Linked DNA regions of Homo sapiens: region 2 is linked to region 1. Evidence: promoter capture Hi-C in 16 types of primary human blood cells and fetal thymus (Javierre and others, 2016). All regions are on one chromosome and are shown on one strand. The core of a region is centred on a gene start or on the middle of the fragment in contact, and the rest is flanking DNA. Distances in the headings are between cores, read along the strand shown.

Region 1 (3,055 bases), core at 258-2,757:
GGTTCAACCGATTCTCACGCCTCAGCCTCCCGAGTAGCTGGGATCACAGGAGCGCATCACCACGCCTGGCTAATTTTTGTATTTTCAGTAGAGATGAGGTTTCACTATATTGGCCAGGCTGGTCTCAAACTCTTGACTTCAAGTGATCCACCTGCCTCAGCCTCCCAAAGTGCTGAGATTACAGGCGTGAGCCACCGCACCCGGCTACCAGAGGAATTTTGTTATATTTATTTGTTTTTTTTGGAGACAGGGTCTTGCTCTGTTGCCCAGGCTGGAATGCAATGGCGCAATCTTGGCTCATTGCAACTTCCGCCTCCCGGGTTCAAGCGATTCTTCTGTCTCAGCCTCCCAAGTAGCTGGGACTACAAGCACATGCCACCACGCCCAGCTAATTTTTTTATTTTTAGTAGAGAGGGGGTTTAACCGTATTGCCCAGGCTGGTCTCGAATTCCTGACCTCAGGTGATCCGCCCGCCTCGGCCTCCCAAAGTGCTGTGATTACAGGCGTCAGTCACCGCGCCCGGCCACCAGAGGCATTTTAAATGATCGTCCACATTAGAAACAAAACGAAACGAAACAACTTGGAAAAGTGAGCAAAAGCCTTCAATGTGTTCTTTTCTCTGCCTTTGTGATCCGAAAGTCGTGCTGCGGTTTATATACTCCTAGGCGAGGGTCGCGTGCTAATGATCCCTTTCTTTTCAATATGCACCCGCGGTGGGACTTACAGAACCTTTATTTTCAACACGTAAGCAGTCACGCTTCCTCGAGCCTAAGGCTTTGTGCTATTCTTAAATGCTTTCCTCCTCCGACGCTGCGGCTCCCTCCTGAGCCCGTAGCTGCAGCGCGTTGGTGAGGAGCGCCGGCCCTGGGTGCCGCCCGCCACCCTGGAGGGACCGGTCCGGGGGAAAGTGCTCGGGAGAAGCCAGGGGCCCCGGCTGCGGTCGCTGGCCCGGGGCTCTGCGCACTCCCCAGTGCCCGGAAACCGCAGGCTGGCCCAGCTTGCGGGCCGGGTCCGCCCACGTGGGTGTGGGAAGCGCAGGGGACGCGGGCCGCCCGGCCAAGGTGCCCTTGCCAGGAACCGGCGCAGACACAGGCCCTGGGCGGCGCGGGAACCCGGCCAGTCCCACCGCGCGCTGCGCCGCAGGGGCCCCACTGCAGGTCGCCCCAAGACCGCGCGACGCTCGGCAGGGCGCCCACAGTCCTGTGGGTCAGAGAAATGTCACCTCCACGTCCCCGCTGGCCGGGAGCCGCTGGAGCCTAGCAACCGCCTGCCAGCCCCGGCCCAGCCCCAGCCGTTTTACGGCAGCGGGCCCCGCCCCCGTGCGCCACCGAGGGCGGGAAGGAGGCGTGCGGCACGAGCCAGCCAGTCCGCGCCACCATCTCTGGCCCTGCGCCCTGTCATTGGCCGAGAGCCGGGCGGCGCGGCGCGGCCGTAAGGCGTGGCCGGGTGTCGTGAGGCGGGCCTTCGGGCTGGCTCGCCGTCGGCTGCCGGGGGGTTGGCCGGGGTGTCATTGGCTCTGGGAAGCGGCAGCAGAGGCAGGGACCACTCGGGGTCTGGTGTCGGCACAGCCATGGCGGGCGCGTTGGTGCGGAAAGCGGCGGACTATGTCCGAAGCAAGGATTTCCGGGACTACCTCATGAGGTGACGAGCGCCGCAGGCCGAACCCCGCAACCCGGAGGGGCTCCCGGGAGGCTGCGACCCGTGCAGTCCGCGACGAGGGCGGCCGCGAGGACGCGGTGGCCCCGGGCAGCGGGTGGGCCGGGGCCCAGGCGAGAGGGTGCGCTTGTCAGGGGGGCCCCACCCGGATCCCTCCCGGACCGCCACACCCCGAAGCGGACGGCGTAGAGAGCCGGTGACAGTGGGCGCCTTTCAGGGCGGGGGTGACAGTGGGCGCCCCTCAGGGCGGGGGTGACAGTGGGTGTCCTCTCCCGGCAGGGTGACAGTGGGCGCTCCTCAGGGCGGGGGTGACAGTGGGTGTCCTCTCCCGGCAGGGTGACAGTGGGCGCCCCTCAAGGCAGGGGTGACATTGAGTCCCCTTCAGGGAGTGGGTGACGGTGGGCGTCCCTCCTGGCCAAGGTGACACTGGGGACGCCTCTCCTGGTAGGCATAACAGTGGACGCCCTTCCCGGCCAGAGTGGCAGTGGGGACCTGGAGGGACGAAAGCGACGGCGCTCCTCAGGACAGGGTGACCATGGGGACGCCTCTCCCGGCAGGGGTGACAGTGGGCGCCCCTCAGGGCAGGGTGACCCGGCAGGGGTGACAGAGGCTCGTTCCTCTCCCATGGTTGGCAGTGGGCACGTCCCTCCGGGCCAGTTGACAGTGGCTCGCTCCTCCGGGCGGGAGTGGTTTCCTGGCCGGTTTCTACCAGATCCTCGGAGTGGGTCGCCGGTCACCTGCGGCCGTCCAGGTGTGCCAGAGGCGGCGACCTGGGTGTGGGGTGGGGAGACGCCAGCGGGAGGCGCTGCTGAGAGCGCGGCGCGGCGCTGTTGGAGCGGAGCTTCGGGTGCGCCCAGCGCGCTTCTGGGACAGCGGAAATAAAATGTGCTGGCCTTGGGTTCGCCTTTCGGTTTTCTCATTCTAAGGACTTTAAGCTTGGGAGGAAGTACAATTTAAGATGTTTTTATATACGAAATTCTGTCAACCAAAGTAAAGTGACGTGTCTCTAAGGTCATACTTTTTCTTCTTGTTCTATTTTCTGTTAACTCCTCCTTTCCAGTTAGAAACAAAGAGCATTCGCGGTTGGAAAGCCTGAAAATACACTTTCTATAATTTATTTGCACCTCTCATCTTGGGGCGCTTGCTTTTATTTCAAAATATTGAATATAACTTTGAAGCAGTTTTAGGTTATTTAGGAGTGTAATTTTAGTTAGTTTTTCAGTGTATGATTTTAAAACCTAGGTACGTGTACAGCTGCGGTTTTTTTTCGGTAGTTAATAGTGTGGTCAAGAGGTAAAGAGATGAAAGCTGAGGAGGAATAAATCCTGTTATAACCACACAAAAGGGATAGTATGAAGGCAACTTGATTTTAGCAATAAAAAAGTTTTAAATCCTGAAT
Region 2 (2,937 bases), core at 138-2,637, 380 kb before region 1:
ACGTCAAGGCTGCCAAAGTGCTTTGTCGTTCCTGCATATGTGTGTTGATACACATGTGTGTGAACACACACACGTTGTGTAGTGTGTAAATGTGTGAAATACGTAACATGTGACTGTAGCACGTGTTTACGCAGGTGCTTGCGTGGCTGTAGGTGTCACCGCGGTGGCCGCTGTCCCAGTCCCTGTGGCGCGTCTTCCTCCCGTTGTCAGGGGTTGCGGGCTCATGGCTGCAGGCTCCTTGTGGTTTGTTTTTCACAGAGTGAGGGCACCCGGCTGTGCCTGGGGAAGTGCAGCCACACTCAATGTGGTCAGTGACAGGGACCCTGACCCCTTCCCAACCCCCTGCTCCTTGCCCCACTCTGCTTCCCCATCTAGGCCTGCGGCATGGCCTCCTCCAGCAACCACCCCTGCCCGCCTTCTCACTGTGGCTGGATTTCACTCCTTCAGCTTCATTGAGCTGCCTTGTGAGGAGGGAAGCGCGGGCCCCGTGTTGTTAGACCTGATCCCCGCGTTCCAGCACCTCCTCAGAGCTTGCCGTTCTCGACACCTTCCTTTAGGAAGCACCCTGCTCCTCGGCCACCCTGGGCAGAGCCTCCCACTCTTCCTCCCGCCTCACAGTCTTCCTTTTCACGCGCCCCCTGGTGTCCTTCCCTCTGCCCATCACTAAAATGTCGCTGGCCTTAAATGACCCTGACCACACTGTGCCGGGCGATCCCAGGGGTCTTCCCAGCTCTGAGCTGGGGCTCAGCCTCATTTCTCTCACCCTCTCACTCACGCCCTCCCCAGTGGGAGTGGAGTCCCAGCACCGCGTGGTCCTCAGAGCCGGCAGCGATGCAAGGCACAGGGCACTCAGAAGCCCCGCACATGGCAATTCCTCACGCTCACAACTCCCCAAACACTTCGCATTCTTTCTAGCCGAACAACAAGAACCCTAACAGAAGCTGCTTTACAGCAGGTCATGGACAGTGTTGTGTCTGCCACACAATTCAGCATTTGGTGACGGACATAGACAAGGCCGGCCGTGCCGTCATGGATCTGAAAACAATCTTTAAAGGACTGCTGGGTGCACCCCTCTTTCTCGAGGTACACGGACAGGCACAGCTCTGGTTTTGCTGGGATCGTTTGCAGTTGGTTATTATCATGGGGCCCTTGGGACTTGATCTGTAACAGCGAACTAACAAGGTCGTCGCCGTTCATCCGTGTGGTGCCTCACTACTTACGAAACGCCTTTTCTCAATGCTCTTATCTGTACAGGGAGGAGGTAAAGAAATTGACAGCTCTTTCTTAATTAACTTTTGGTTTCCAAGGTTGTTCCCCCAAGGAAATCCAAGGTTCCCTTCCTTGCTCCTGTTTTTGCTTTGCTTTTCTTTGGTAAATCGTTATAGAATACTCAGTATGTTCTAAGCACCTTGCAATGTGAACTCATTTGACCCTCAACAACCAGATGAAGTAGTCACTCTCATTGCCGCTCTCTCCCATTTTACAGATAAGAGCATGGAGGCAATTAAGTTGTACCAGGTGACACAGCCAAGTAGGGGAGTCATGGATTTGAACCGAGCCATGTGGCTTTAGGGTCTTAACTGTGATTCTATGATGCAGACATTTGCTGAAATCAAAGATAATTTACTCTTGCAGTTTATTTTGTGGAAATAATATTTTTCCATTTTCTTAATGTAACCCTTTAATGACTCCAAAAGAATTTAAAATTATTCTTGGCTTTGCTTTTTCCATGCTAAGCGAATGCCATCTAACAGGCTTCAGCTAAGTCTGGAAACCAAACCTGTAAGGCAGGAAATGTGGTTCCTTCTGTGATCCTGATACTACTGCTAGGACTTCTCAGTTACTGGGTCCCAAATATTTTTAGCTTAAGACTCTGTTGGAAATGTAATAACAATAAATCACAGACCCCACCTTGTAGTAGCTATATTTTTGCTATCCACGCATTGAGGAGAGCTGCTGAAACCATCAATGCCTTCCAAAGGAAACTGAACTTTATTCATGCTTGCAGCTGTTATCACAGAAGCATGTGAAACCGTTTCTTTGACCTACGGAGAGTCACCTATGTACCTGTGTTTCCACCTGTGCTCTGCAGTAGCCTCGGTGCCCACAGGCCTCAAATCTCGTGGTGCAAGGCTCAGGGTCATGGCTTGCTCCGCTTTCCTTGTTGGCTCCCAGAAGTCGGGGCAGAAGTGAAGGTCGTTTCCTGGGAGTGGACAGGATGGGAAGGTGCTATTCTTTCTCCGTGGAGCTGTTGATTTATTTACCTGTGAACTGGGAGCAAACAGGACTTTCATGTGAGGCTGAGTCTCTCAGGGACCGTGGTGCACAGCAGGTTGTAACCCTGGTGCCGGCTTACAGCCCAGTGCGAGATCCTGTGTGATTCGAGATCAGCTGCGTAAGGGAAAATGAGGCCAGTTTCCCAAGATACTTTCACTTAAGAACATGACTTTACACACTCCATGTGCCAGGGACTACGCCAGGTGCCGTGGGGGAATTTGAACTTCATATTCCGTCCTCCGTTTAACATGCACACACACACACATATGCGCATAGACATACAAACACACACACGCACACTGCATGAACACACACATGCATACCAATTGCTTTGAACGGTGCTAAGGTTGAGCTGACATGGCTGAGCGGTAAAGAGAGGCCATGATTCGGTTTTGCGTCTGAGGGAGAATGTGGTAAAATGTGGGGAGACTGAGGGAGGGGAGGACGCAGGGACACCACTGTCCTAGTGCCTGGGATGTGTGGCCTCTTTGGGCCTCAGTTTCCTTTTGGTGAAACCAGTACCTAAGGTTTCTGCCACTTGTCTTGGTCCAGGTGGGACAGACCATGTACCTCTGTGGTGACACCAGGGCCTCCACGTGATAGAGCCTGCTTCTCACTCCTGTCTGCAAGGCTTCTTTTCCATGAGGTCACAGGCAGGGT

The links. The method cuts DNA at HindIII sites, captures the fragments that hold promoters and counts their contacts. A CHiCAGO score of 5 or more calls a contact.
Region 2: a contact is called between a fragment that was not itself captured here and the fragment with the promoter of MPC1 in region 1, in 1 of 17 cell types (fetal thymus). The highest score is 6.1, in fetal thymus.

The regions. Positions count from the first base shown.
Region 1 is chr6:166,381,392-166,384,446 of GRCh38, reverse strand. It overlaps MPC1 (mitochondrial pyruvate carrier 1), which reads left to right and starts at 1,507. Exons shown (of 5, transcript NM_016098.4): 1 at 1,507-1,641. The coding sequence starts at 1,571. MPC1-DT (MPC1 divergent transcript) reads right to left here and starts at 1,269. Exons shown (of 1, transcript NR_189630.1): 1 at 1-1,269. RefSeq lists silencers at 835-1,574, 1,725-1,824 and an enhancer at 2,185-2,364. The HindIII fragment of the contact is 5,196 bases long and covers 1-2,593 here.
Region 2 is chr6:166,761,998-166,764,934 of GRCh38, reverse strand. It overlaps a transcript of RPS6KA2 not described here. Among named protein-coding and RNA genes, the nearest start is that of RPS6KA2, 140 kb to the right of the region's middle. The HindIII fragment of the contact is 5,905 bases long and covers 1-2,937 here.